Linked DNA regions of Homo sapiens: all the other regions are linked to region 5. The links are contacts of gene promoters, found by promoter capture Hi-C in blood cells and fetal thymus (Javierre and others, 2016). All regions are on one chromosome and are shown on one strand. Each heading gives the region's core, a stretch centred on a gene start or on the middle of the fragment in contact. The rest is flanking DNA. Distances are from core to core; before and after follow the strand shown.

Evidence for each region. Contacts are between HindIII fragments. The CHiCAGO score rates a contact against its expected background, and 5 or more counts as called.
Region 1: a contact is called between a fragment that was not itself captured here and the fragment with the promoter of BMPER in region 5, in 1 of 17 cell types (endothelial precursors). The highest score is 5.5, in endothelial precursors.
Region 2: a contact is called between a fragment that was not itself captured here and the fragment with the promoter of BMPER in region 5, in 1 of 17 cell types (endothelial precursors). The highest score is 7.5, in endothelial precursors.
Region 3: a contact is called between a fragment that was not itself captured here and the fragment with the promoter of BMPER in region 5, in 1 of 17 cell types (M2 macrophages). The highest score is 6.7, in M2 macrophages.
Region 4: a fragment that was not itself captured here is called in contact with the fragment with the promoter of BMPER in region 5 in 1 of 17 cell types (endothelial precursors); the score reaches 5.2 in endothelial precursors.

What each region holds. Positions count from the first base shown.
Region 1 is chr7:33,357,768-33,360,467 of GRCh38, forward strand. It overlaps BBS9 (Bardet-Biedl syndrome 9), which reads left to right. Exons shown (of 23, transcript NM_198428.3): 16 at 88-228. Among named protein-coding and RNA genes, the nearest start is that of BBS9, 230 kb to the left of the region's middle. The HindIII fragment of the contact is 780 bases long and covers 861-1,640 here.
Region 2 is chr7:33,334,215-33,336,914 of GRCh38, forward strand. BBS9 (Bardet-Biedl syndrome 9) reads left to right here. Exons shown (of 23, transcript NM_198428.3): 10 at 2,227-2,408. Among named protein-coding and RNA genes, the nearest start is that of BBS9, 210 kb to the left of the region's middle. The HindIII fragment of the contact is 1,442 bases long and covers 561-2,002 here.
Region 3 is chr7:33,284,075-33,286,774 of GRCh38, forward strand. The region is part of intron 9 of BBS9 (Bardet-Biedl syndrome 9); the gene reads left to right. Among named protein-coding and RNA genes, the nearest start is that of BBS9, 160 kb to the left of the region's middle. The HindIII fragment of the contact is 4,857 bases long and covers 1-2,700 here.
Region 4 is chr7:33,308,422-33,311,121 of GRCh38, forward strand. All of the region lies in intron 9 of BBS9 (Bardet-Biedl syndrome 9), which reads left to right. Among named protein-coding and RNA genes, the nearest start is that of BBS9, 180 kb to the left of the region's middle. The HindIII fragment of the contact is 478 bases long and covers 1,204-1,681 here.
Region 5 is chr7:33,904,168-33,906,867 of GRCh38, forward strand. BMPER (BMP binding endothelial regulator) reads left to right here and starts at 1,372. Exons shown (of 15, transcript NM_001365308.1): 1 at 1,372-1,579; 2 at 2,651-2,700. The coding sequence starts at 1,447. The HindIII fragment of the contact is 6,002 bases long and covers 1-2,700 here.

The DNA of each region.
Region 1 (2,700 bases), core at 1-2,500, 550 kb before region 5:
TTGCTGCTCAAACTATTAGTAGTACAATTTTTTTTTGCCAAATTATTTGTCAAGTCTATGAATCTACATATCTCTCTTTTATTTTAGGCATTCCGCGAGTTATCCAATGTAAATTTAGACTTCCCCTAAAGTTAATTTGCCTACCAGGTCAGCCTTCAAAAACTGCAAGCCACAAAATTACTATTGATACCAACAAATCTCCAGTCAGTCTTCTTAGTCTCTTCCCAGGTAAGACTGTTGAAATAACATGCCTGCAGCATCAAAAATGCTAAGAATTTAGAATGGAATCCTTCATCAGCAGATAATGATGGGGTAATTATCAGATAATTGTTAAGTAAGAGTATAAAAATGCCTCAAGGATTTTTCCCTCCTTTGCCTGTTCAAAGGTGAATAGCTTATATCAACAAGGTAATAAGGTATTCCTTTTAAGTTTGATTAAAATTATCATAATAATTATTTTGCTATGGTATTCAGAAATAAAAATCAAGTGTTTCTCTTTAGACTGAATTTTTTTGGCTTGGAATGTAAATATTTATTATTCATCTTTATGGTAGGTTTTTGGATATATCTGTCTTCTAAGTGTATAAATATTTATTATTTTCATTGTAGGCTTTTGTATGTGTACCTTTTAAAGTATATTCTTATGTCTCTGAAAAGTAATCTTATAAGTAGATGCTCTTTGTACTGTTTTATTCTGCTGTCTACAGCAGCTAGAGGGTGTGCATCCTGTGCTTCTGGTTGTTTAGAAGGGTTTCATATTTAATGCTTCAATATCACAGTGAACATTTGGGGTAATTTGTGATGGTATGACTTGGAGAGAAGTGTCAGTTTTTCTTTCTGAGTGGCTTAGAAACTAAAGAAGCTTTTTTGGATCAAACATCCTTAGTAACCAAGGTTTTTAGTGTGTCATGTCATTAATTTTCTTGATGGTGGGGTAGAATTGAAGAATAAAATCTTGGAATTAAATCAACCCTTTTAAATCCTTCATTAAAAATCAGCACTGTTGGCTAGGAGATGCATCTTCACCTTTGCATTAGTGGATAAGATTTAGGATACAAACAATACTTCTCACAAGGTTTAGAAATTTATGGTAAGTCAACTTTTGTGTTATTAACTACTTAAAGTGCTTAAAATTTATTTTTTATTAATTTGCAGTATTTCAAAAATTTTATTTATATATAACTCTGAAAAATCTCCAAGATTAAATATTTTACTACAATTATTCTATTCTTAAGTGTGAATTGAGTTTGGAGATATATATGTATATATTGTTAGCAAAATATTTTTTACCTTTTGGGTTCTTTCTCCCATCTCTTCTTTTACCTCCTTATTTTTTAGTCAGTTTTCTTGTAACAAACTTGGATTATGAAAAAAACAGACTCACTACCTTTTGTAACATCTTGTATAAACTTATTAGTTTCTTGGGTCTCCTATACTACCTTAGGAACATAGTTGGAAATTATATGTTGAACACCAAATTTATTGGTGGCTTTGAAAAACGTTTAAACACCTGACTTCTGAGGAAGGGTTGATCTTTACTGTAGATAAATGCAACCCAATTAGAATTGAATAAAAACACATGCCTTTGAGCAGAAAGGTAAAGTCCATAAGATACGAATTGTATAGTGTGTACTAAAGAAAGCTTAGATGACTTATCCATTTTCCTCCTGATTTTGGGCTCAATTGTTTTGATGTCATTATGCTCATCAGCATATATTTGCTTCTTACTCACTTTAGGAATGGGACACAATGACAAATTTTTAAAAATTTCTTCTGGGATCCAATATATATGATATAGAGTGGTTTTTAAAAAATTCCTGGATTTGTATTAATGTTAAACATGCTGGATGGAATCATGTGCTTGTTTAAAATAAGTATCACTTCACTCTGATAAAAGTAAGACTTAGATAAAGTTGCCATTGCAAATCTTCTGTGTCTGTTTTTTTTAACTGAAAGAAGCAAAATTAATGAGCTTTATAGAGAAGAAATAAAACAACTTTTACTCTACATGTCTTCCCATTTGTTTATTCCAGTTCTCTTTCTGTGAACAAATATAGGTATATTTAAAATAGCTTTAATTTTTCTTATTACAAAAGAAATGTGAAATTTAGAAAATGTGGATAACCAAAAGGAAAAAAGTGAATGTTACTAGTAATTCTACTATCCAGCAATACCTTTTTCTGTTTCATTACATTTTTCTAATCTTTAAATAAATATTTTTTCTAAGCATTTATCCCCAAAAAGAATTTCACTTGTCATTCTGTTTTGAGACATCTTTTTACACCATTAGATATTTTTGATATATGATTTTAATGATTACATAGTATTCTCTCATAAATCCATACTATAAAATCATTTGACCAGCATTATACTTTTAGATATTTACGTTGTTTTTAGTTTATTAATATTGTAAATATACCTGTGATGAACACTGTTGTAACAATACTTCTTCAAATTTATTATAGTTTATTTGATGAATATTTAAAAGTGGAATTGCTGGGTGAGACAGAGAATCAGAATGTTTTTAAAACTTCTGAAATATAGTGTGAAATTGACTTCCTTAAGGAATACCAGTTAACCCTAACAACAATGTTTGAATAAAGGCGTCCAGTACCCCAAACCTTGCCAATAGAGAATCTTATAAGAAAAACCTTTTAATATGCTTAATAATTATATAGAAAACATTTATTTACATATATA
Region 2 (2,700 bases), core at 32-2,531, 570 kb before region 5:
ATAAAACTGATTTAGTAATAAACCTTTCAACTCAAAGACCAACTCAATTTAGATAAGGAGGAATACTTGTATTGGGTAATGCTAGCTTTTCTGTATGATGGACTGTTCAAAGGATGAAGATGAAATGGAAATGCCTGTTTGAATTCAAAGAACTGATGAATCTCACATTCTCTGAGAAGCCCCCCCCAGAGGTCTGCGCTTTAGCACCCTAGAGTTGCCTGAGGACTCATTGGGTTCGTAGGGCTTAGTGGGGCTAGCTAGAATGCGGAACAGACTACAGTCACAACTCAGAGGGAAGGGAAGATTTGCTCTCTTGAAATGGGCTTGTCAGAGCTGAAAGTTGGGATTTCCATGGCCACTAGATGGCTTCAGTTACCTGCAAAGAAAGGTTCAAACCCAAAGGTACTCTGGGGTTGCTTTTCATACTTTAAGAAGATCATTCCATTTTTGGACTATTTGTTTTCTGAGGGGTAGATGGCAGAAGCAATTGATAAAACTTAAAGTTTTTGAGGATTATCTAGTCTTACCTTCTCATTTTACATATAAAGAATATTTAGGAAAGCTTTCCCAAGTTGACTGAGCTCTACAGGAGCAGCATCAGAGCCAGACTCAAGTCTCCTGCGTCCTAGTCTAGTTCTTTAGCTGTTGAACCAGTGACAACAATCTATTTTTTATTCCTCTCAAGTAATATGACAGGGTTGCATGTCACTGACTATGCCTGAGTCCTGGAGATGATGTGTATTGGAATGTTGTGTTTAAGGCAGGTGGTGAAGTGGATGCTGGTGACCATCTTATGGGCAGAACTGAGCAATGGTAGTATCTACTCCCAACCCAGTTGAGCTTTTAGATTAATGAAATGACTACCTGCCATGATCCACTGTTGGGGAGTTTTAAACATTTTTGTTCATTCTAAATAATCCTAGACTCTTACATGCCTTATCTGTTATATACTTTATGTCCTTTTCTCTTCTTCAGATGAATAGCAACATTTAAACATCTTCTTTTCTCTCACAATTTTTCTATTTTTGTTTACTTTTAGAGACAAGGTCTTGCTATGTTGCCCAAGCTGGATTCAAACTCCTGGGCTTAAGTGATTCTTTGCCTCTTCAAGTAGCTGGGAGTACAGGCTTGTGCTACTGTGCCCAATTTATTATTTTTGATTAATATCTAACCTTTAGAACCAAGTAGAAAATACTTTAAAAAAAAATCAAAAGTTTCTGTAGAAAACCTAACAAACAAAAGTGAGTCAAACAAATCCATTATGTATCAACTCAAAATGGCTTATCACGATGTTGAATTTTTTTGTTTTTATGGCAAACTTAGGGAGGAAGCAAATACAGTATTCATCTCAGCTACTTTTTATGACATGTTCACAAAAACAACTTTAAAAAAATTGTGTGCTAAAATTATCCTTAATTTATATATTATGGCTAGTTTCTAGAGTAAAACAGACCTCAGGGAGCCTAAGAGAGAAGGAAGAGTGAAAGAATGGGGAATAAAAAAGATAATGAGGATGAGAAGAGTGATAGAGAAAGAGCTAGTAAATGGGACAATTGGCTGCTTCTAGCTAAAAGTGAAGAGAAAGAGAGAACAAACCAGAGGGCCACTTGAATAGGAGAGCGTGTGAAGGAAGCTGTGATGGGAGGACCTGGGAAAGAGGGCAAACATGAATCCTAAGGGTAGAGAGGGAAAAGGATGAGGAAAGACCGGGGGCACTTTTTTTTTCGCAAGACCTCCGATGGCTTCCCACATCAACTTCGTTGGTTTTCTGTCCCCTGGGTTGTCCTGTCTTCACTCCTGTGCCTCCTTCCTGGTCTTCAGCCAGCCAGCAGCCCCGCTCCATCTCTTGGTCCATTGTACCTCCAAAGTGTTGTTCACATGCTTATTACGGAAATGCCAAGTAGTAGCTGGAAGGAGGATTAAAAACAGTACTTAAAATGCTCTTAGAGCAGGATTTGCTTTGTAGTTAGGTCCCCAAAAGTGGTAGCTATTATAATAATTAAGCTTTTTTCCCGGCCTTAGTGGACCTTAACATTGGGAATACTTCTGTAAATACAAATCGTGTTTGAAACATTTGAATTGAGTCTTTGAAGTAAAACTTTAGAAATAGATATATAGTTATTTTCTTAATGGTGTGTTGATGCTGAATTGAGTAAAAATGTAGTTGGTCAAGACTAACTCTACTGAAATTTAAAATTATGTCTCATTTTCTCTTCCTTATTGTAGTGATTTAAAGGGAGTGATAGTCACTCTGAGTGATGATGGTCACTTGCAGTGTTCATACCTGGGGACAGATCCTTCTCTGTTCCAAGCTCCAAACGTTCAATCTCGAGAACTAAACTATGATGAACTTGATGTAGAAATGAAAGAACTTCAGAAAATCATCAAAGATGTTAACAAATCACAAGGTATCTCATTTGCAGCTTTTTATTATTTTAGTATTCATTATGAAATTCATATTATCTTGTAGATAGATATTATTTTGTGTATTTGTTAATTTTCTCCTCTAGGCTTAATTAAAATCATATTTGTAAAAACAGTATTGCTCTTTAGCACACAAGGTCTTTATGTCTACTTTGTATGTTATGGCTTCTGAAAACGTATTTTATTTAAGAAAGTGCTTTTGTTGTTAATGTTTCATGGACAGCACTATCTAGTTTTTTTCTTTACATGCTAAGAAAGGAAGAAGTACTTCTTTGG
Region 3 (2,700 bases), core at 174-2,673, 620 kb before region 5:
TTCTGATGTCACTCCTTCTGTATCCCATGCATGTCCTTAAATCTCATTCCGTTAGTCTAGGACCTGACTCTCTCTTCCGCTTGAAGTCTGCAGAGTTGGTGCCAGCTCTTGGCATCCTATCATACTGTGGTCCAGAATTTAAGATATTTGGTAGGCTTCAAAGTTTGTTGATTGTGACTGTAGTCATTTCCTCATTCAATTTCCTTTTTTTGGGAGGTGGTAGTTATTGTAGTACTTTCTGCTGTTTTTGGTAAGTTTTGCTGTATTATCTTTGATTAGAATTCAAGTCTTTGTCAGTCTTTATTGTTGCTGAGGAGAAATCCATGGACAACCTGATTTTTGTTTTGTTGTAGGTAATCAGTTCTTTATGTTTGATTGCTTGTAGAATGTTTTTCATTTTTTCTGTAAATGCCACACTTGCCACCATATATCTGTATGATGATATTTTCCTTGATATTATTGGGAATGTAGTGAATTTAATCTGTTTAAACCATTTGTTTTGCTGCTGAAGAAAGGTTTCCTATGTTATATCTTTGATTATTTCTTCAGTTTTGTTTGATTTAATCTGTCCTTCAGGAAAACTAATATCTTTTGGTTGGCTACTTATTTTCTGTTCCCAATATCTGCTCTCTTTTTCCTCATAATTTTCATTTCTTTGTCATTTGTTTTCTCTGTTTTCTGTGGAAGTGTGTAAAATTTGTGTTCCATATCAGTTTTGAGAAACCACGGCACTGGTTTTGGTCTTTTCTATGTCTACAGTGGAAGATTTTTTTAGTCTGCTGAGGTACTGTCTTTCTCCCAGCCACTTCCCTCCTACCTCCTGTATCTTTGCTACTCTTAACCAGTGTAGTATATGCCAAGTTACAATTCCCATGAGGCACTAGTACCAAGTACATCTTACTTTGAAACATGTTTATAGTGTTTATTTTGGGGCTTTATCTCTGAGTATATAATATGCCATTATTAATCTCTGTTCTTTACTTGGACAATTTTATAGAATTTGCTACCTTTGTTTAGAAGTCAATAGATAGTGTAGAGGGGCCACGGGCAGTGGTAGAGGTTGGAAAGATTCAAGAGGGTAGTTATAAAATATGTTGCTTCAATCATAGGTCACTAACAGATGTCTGTACAGTTTTCTGGTTCATATAGAACTTGGAATTCTGAATCAGATGGGGCAGTGAGTTTATAATCAGAAATGTTAGGTAGAGTGACAGAACTCTTGGCTTTCATGGGTTCCTATCAAAAGAGGAGAGCTTTGGTTTAGGGCCTAATGAATCTGCTATTGCATTGTGGTATACTGTAACTTAACATGAGTTATGGGGGATGAAGGAACAGAATTATGTCATAGTTCGTATATTTTTTCTTCCTCTTACTATTGGTACCTCAGTAAACATAATTTGGACAAATTATGTCAATCTCATTGAAGGATTTTGGGGGTAAAATTAGTTGCATGATTTTTGATGGTCATCGTTACATGCATGCATATATTTCCATTGTGTCAGATAAAAGGTCTTTATGAGATGACCCCTAGATATTATATTGATGGGGCTTAAAATGGAGAAGCACAAGAATTGTGCTTATAATGTCCTTATAGCCATGTGGCTAAACCATTATTGAGGTATGGCCTGTCATTTGGTACACTACTTTCATAAACTGTAGTATGGCTATTTTGATAAGTGTTTTATTCACATGGAAAAGACCTTGTAGGAATCATTAAATAAATTAAAAAGCCATATCTTTATTTTTATTTGTCAGTCAAGGTTATAATTCTCAGAAAAATTCTCCTTAGGAAAAGTTAGATATCTTCTGCTTGGCTCATGTTTTCATGATCATTTTATTTTTAATGTAATAATGTAAAACACAGCATCCTCCATTCTTATAAACAATATCATAGTAATTACAGTTCCAGATTGTTTGATTTTGTTACATTCCATAGTAAGTCTATTTAATTTGCCTGGCAGAGATTTTAGAAACACTGTATAGCCAAGGATAAGTAGTTGCAGTTAGAATGCCAGTTGGGTTTATGATTTTCTGTTTTATAAATTAAATGTTTCAATGGTAGAATTCTACTTATTACCACATGTTTCCACTGAAAAACTTCTTTAGAAGTACTGTCATCAAGACTGTGAACATCTCTTAAAAATGAAACTCTCAATCTCCAAGAAAATAATTTATACCGGTAGGAAAAATCCTTTTGTGTTTTGGGTTCCTCATTCTGTATCCCATAATTGATATATGGGGGATTCAGTTGCAGTAGGGTTGTAGCCAAAAGGAAAGTGTTTGCTTTTCACTAGTTATGAAGGGTTTGCCTTTCACTAAGCACATACCTTCTTGGCCCTTTGGTCCCGGAGATCATTTCTATCAGGTTAGTGACTTTGCCGTTCATTTTTCTTAGAAAACACATGTGATTTAACATTTTTTTCTCCTTACTTCAGATAGTGGGTCCTCCTGATAACTGAAATTTGACTCTCTGGTTTCAAAGATAGAATGAGTTTATTTTTATGGGTTCCTGAGAATTCTGGGAAATAGCTCTATTTCCCAGAGGAAAAAGTTTGTGTTTTCTTAGTTACTTACTGTAGAATATAAAAGAGAAAAAGTGATTTATTTGTGTGTGGGGGGCAGTAACATAAAGTTTATATGCGGCTAAGCTCTTTGCAGAAGTACTTTGAACTTTAGAACTTTGGATGGACTTAGTCCTTT
Region 4 (2,700 bases), core at 193-2,692, 600 kb before region 5:
TGAGAAATTAGAAATTACAGAGTTTCTGAAATTCATTGCTTTTACTGGAGTGTACTAACATGTTATCATTGCTAAGGTGTCTGTTCAGAAGATCTGGTTATTCACTAACGGTCTGATGTTTGGCAGCTTGTGTTTGTAGAGGTATAGGAGAGCACTATCCATCACAGTTCTGTACCTAGGATTTGTATTTCCCTACTGAACTTTGTACCATAATGATTCTCCATCTCAGTCAGTTGACAGCTTACTTAAATGATTGTGGCAGTTTTCAAGAGATGAATAGATCTCTCCTTGGAATTTTGAAAATGCAAACCCACATCAGTACTTTATGAACAGTGTTTTAAAAATAGACTTTGTACTTATTGTTCCTCAATCCTGACGTAGCTTCTATGGGGCAAATGAGAAGACTCCACCTCTCACTTATGGCCTCTTAGGAGCCACCAACTATACACATATGAAAGAAAATGAAGCATTTTTAAAGCAACGTAAAAACAAATATTATATCAATTGGTATAGATTGTATTTTTAAGTACCAGTTGCTTTTTGGCACAAGGAAAGAATATGGACTTTGGAATCAGAGTGAGCTTGGTTCATTTATTAGTTATGAAATTTTGAGCCAATCTGTCACTTCTCTGAGCCTGAGTTTTCTCATCTGCAAAATGTAGGTGACAGTAATGAGGGCTTAGATCTATGGTTCTCAGTCTTGATGACATTAGAATCACTGGAGTAGGGGGTCTTTAAATAAAACTGATGCCTGGATTGCAGGAGGATTACATAGAAGTAGTTAAAAGAAGATTCTTAGGTGATTCTAATATGCAATAGGATTGAGAATCACTAGCCTAGACTAAGGTAGTGGTGAATGAACCCAAGGTTTCCAACACTTCAAATTATAACACGTTTGAGTGAAGGATGGACCCAAGATTTCCAAGACTTCAAATTATAACACGTTTGACTGGTGAATGAACCCAAGATTTCCAAGACTTTGAATTATAACACATTTGAGCTAGAAGTAGTTTAACTGCTTCATTTTAGAAATGAGGAAACTCAAGAAGCAAGTACATAAATTGATTTGGTGACTTTTTATATAGGGGCATGAAGCAGAAAAAGAATTATTGTTATTCTTTGGAACAGAGGTGATGGGTTAATTATAGTGATATTATAAGAAATAAGAAGGTAGGAAAAGGGACCAGGTTTTTGAGAAAGAAAAGCTTGGTTTCCAGCCTGTTGAATGTATGGTGACCGAGGTACATAGATGGAAATAAATGTATATGAAAGTCCCTTTTAAACTGAAAATACTCATACTCATGTAAGTTAATATAATTCAAGTGGAAATACTTAGAAGGATCCGGCCATGTGGTATTGGAGGTTACAGACTAGGGGTTAGGCTGGCACCTGTCAGTGCAGAATTAGTAGCTAATATAGCATTGAATTCTCAGGGAGTTAGTGGAGCATGGGAAGAAGAAAGGTCTGAGTAGAATATTTAGGGATTCTCATAATTAGGAGGCAGGATGAAGAGATCTTAAAAGAAACTAGAGAAGGTAGAGAAGCAAGAGAGTTAAGTCCAGTGGCATCGGAGCCAAAAAAGGGGCACATATCACAACAAATATCTGTGTGTCTGCAAGACCTGTACTTTCCAGTGTCTGCTGGGTATCACCTTAGTGTTGAGTAGCTGTCTCAAAATCCAAGCTTGCTTGCCTTGCCTCCTCAATCACCCCACAAAATTCAGCCCTCCTCCTACAGTGTGTTTAATCTTGATAGATGGCTTCATACCCAGCTTTCCCAGGCTAACACTTAGGAATCATCTTTGATTTCTTTCTGTCATTGTTTTTCTACATTTAATCGTCATGTAGTATTATTTTTTCTATCTTTGTCTTGTTTTTTCTGTTCATTGTCATTACACTATTTCTACTAATTCCAAAGCCTACTATATAGATTTTTAAAAAAAACACACTTGTTGGAAATGTTATAATTTCTTCTATGTTGGAAGTGAAACCATGGTCATTATGTGTATAACAATTCACTCATTCTGGGCAAGAGCCAAAACACATCCAGATGGGCCATGGATAGGATGACAATATAATATTCATCCAAATTGGGATATTTCTGAGAGTAAAAGGGGATTCTGTTAATAATTTTACCAGGATAACAGGCATTAAAAGGGACTGCCTTGTGCAACCAGGATATATGGCTATACTAGCTCCCTGGTTCCCAACTGGGAGCAGTTCCCTACCCCAGGGGACATTTGGCAATGCCTGGGGACATTTTTGAATGTCATAACCGGAGCAGGAAGTGTTGTTTGTTTTTTGTATTTACTGGTAGAGGCCTGGAATGCTGCTAAACATCCTGTGATACATGAGACAGTCCCCACAAGAAAGACTTATTTGGCTTTTTGCATTTAATTAATTCAGCAAGTGCTTATTTAACCCCCTTCTCTATGCCAGCCACTGTGCTAGATTCTGGGGATATATTCATGAGCAAAGCAGTCATGGTCACTGAATTCATGGAACTTGTAGTGGGAGAGACCAAGATTAAATATATAATTGCTCAAATAAACATATCATTCCAACAGTGAGAAGTACTGTGAAGGAATAGTAGCTGGCACTTTGGGAGCATATAACAGGGGACCTGGCCTAGAATGTGAAGTGAGGGAAAGTTTTTCTGACATATTGAAATCCAATGGCTAAGCAGACCTGAACCAGACAA
Region 5 (2,700 bases), core at 122-2,621:
CCCACCTCGCGCCTTCGTACTTTGGTTACAAAAATCATCTCTCTGCGATTGCACCCCTTTTGAGTAGAGGGTGCCACTGCGTGGGGAGGAGGCGGCGATTCAGCAGGGGGATCACAGGAGCTGACTCCCCGACACCCAGTGCTGCAGAGGCGAGAGGGCGCAGCCGGGCTGAGAGAGCGACGGAGCTCCGAGCTGCAGAGGCCGCCGCGCGGCGGCCCCCGCCAGAGATGAGCGGTGGGGCGGGGGTTCCTCCCTCTTTTCGGGTGAATGAATGATTAGTCAAACACCACCTCCCCGCCCCGGTCCGCCCGAGATTGGAAGGGAGGAGTCTCGGAGCGACTGTTCATTTTTTAAGGACGAAAGGCGTTTGCCTCGGTACGTTTTTAAATCGACCTTGTGTGTGTTTCAACTTCGGTCATCCCTAGTGTCAGGACGCGCAGACAGCTAAGCACAGAACACATCTCTAAGGCCACTTGCCCCTCTGTCCGCTCAGCCCCCTGAGTTCGCTGTCGCGCCCCCGCCAGAGGGAAGCAAAGCAGGGCATGAAAAGTTGCGGGGGCCCTACTGCCCCGGGTGTGTCGCTCCTTCCCAAAGGTGGGGCACCCGGGAGCGAGCAGGGTGGTGGGGCGCCCCTGCGTCCCGTTTGCTGCTCCCTCGCTGGATTGGGGCACCCGGGCCTGAGCGCTAGTGCTGCGGCATCCCCGGGGCTCCCCCAAGAAAGGGAGGAGGAGCCGCGCTCGCCCGGACAGTGGAGACGCGCCTTCTCGGCTCTGGTCCGCGCCCTGGGGCCCTGGCCTCCCTGGAGGGGCTGGGGAACTGGAAGCTGGGCCGAGAGAGTTCCCGCTGCAGCTATCGCGCAGTCCCTCCTGCGCCCGGGCGCCCCCAGCGGGTTCCGGGAGGCGCCCGGTGAGCCCACGTCTGTTGCGGCGGAGCGAGCGCGCTCCGGGAGGGCCGAGAGCCGGCGGGGCTGGCAGGAGGTGAGGAGTGCGGGAGTGGAGGACGCTGCGGCAGCGACAGCGACAGCCCCCGAAACAGTAGCGGCAGCCCGGGCGGCGGCTGAGCGGCAGTGCGCAGTCGGCAGCGCCGCAGCTCCTCTCAGTCTATCTCCGGCTGCCGCAACACCCCTTCCTCCTGGCCCCCTCTCCGGCGCTGAGGGGCTGACTGCTAAGCCACTGCAAGCAACTCCCTCAGGAAAAAAAAAAAAAAAGCCGCATCGGAGGAGCCTGGCCGCAGGACCCCTCCTCCCCGGGCGCCCCCACACCTTGGTCTCTCCCCCCGCCCTCCCTCACACCCCCCCGCCCCCCAGCTCTCGGGCGCCCGCCTCCCTCCTTCGCGGACGGTCTCCCGACACGCCGGCTGAGAGCCCTTTTCGACTGTGAGCTGCGGCAGCTGAGCAGAGGCGGCGGCGCGGGACCTGCAGTCGCCAGGGATTCCCTCCAGGTGACGATGCTCTGGTTCTCCGGCGTCGGGGCTCTGGCTGAGCGTTACTGCCGCCGCTCGCCTGGGATTACGTGCTGCGTCTTGCTGCTACTCAATTGCTCGGGGGTCCCCATGTCTCTGGCTTCCTCCTTCTTGACAGGTAGGGGAGGGGGCGGGAGGGACCGGCCCTCCGGGACGCCGGTTTGGTACCTGGGAAAGGTGGCGCTGGCTTGCCCCGGGGATGGGAGGGTGGGGAGCGCGCACCTTGGCGCTTGCCCTGCGCTGGTCGATGGGGATGAAGCGAAGCCCCGGGAGGGCTGGGAAGGCTGGTGAAGAGGTTGCGGGCTGAGAGGCTGTTGCCTTCAATGTAGTAATAATAGACATTCTTCTATTTGAATTTGAGAAATTATTTTATTTATTTTTAATGCTTTCCTCAACTTTTATTTTAATCTTTCCCTCTGTAGAACTCAGGAAAAAAATTTGTGCAGTTTTCCGCACATCTTCCTTTCTCATCTTTGGGGTTGCAATACATCCACTGTGCTAGGAGTGCTTTTTAAAGCACTGGCTCTCAAGACCTTGAATTTAAAGAAACTATCATTTAAAAAGGGCACTAATAGCCGGATATAATAATTATATGTTTTCAGGCAGGTGAAGACCTCAGCTGCTATTCTGAAGGACATACTTTACTGACACCTGGTGCAGAAAAGAAAATATGGAGTCAATTTCTAAGAGAAGGGAAAAGGGGATTGCGTTTCAAAAAGTGATTTAAACCTAAGACAATGCGAGACAGATTCATAGAAAGGCCTGTTTATTGACTCAGTTCTGAGTTTTGGTCAATTTAAAATCTGCCCCAATTTGAGGGTTTTTTTAAATTTTATTTTTTATTTTTTTCTTTGCGTATGGGGCTGTGTGCTTAGTTGAAATATCTTCATAAAGGAGGAGTGTTATTAAAAATCCAGTGAAATACTTGGAATTGTGCTTAGACCATCTGAGAACAGATAATTTATCCCTATATCATAGTCTTTTCTTTTTTGAACCTGTTTAAATAAAATTATTGAAAATGGAGTTGGGGGCAGAGGTTTTGCTTTGGTGAATTTAATAATTTAAACCACATTAAGAATTCTGAAGTTTGGGTAGAGGTTTCAAAAAGGATTAGTGTAAAAATTTTAAATGTTGAAATCATGCTGCTAAGCTAACTTTAAATGAAACATTTTTCCCCCCTGAATTTCAGGTTCTGTTGCAAAATGTGAAAATGAAGGTGAAGTCCTCCAGATTCCATTT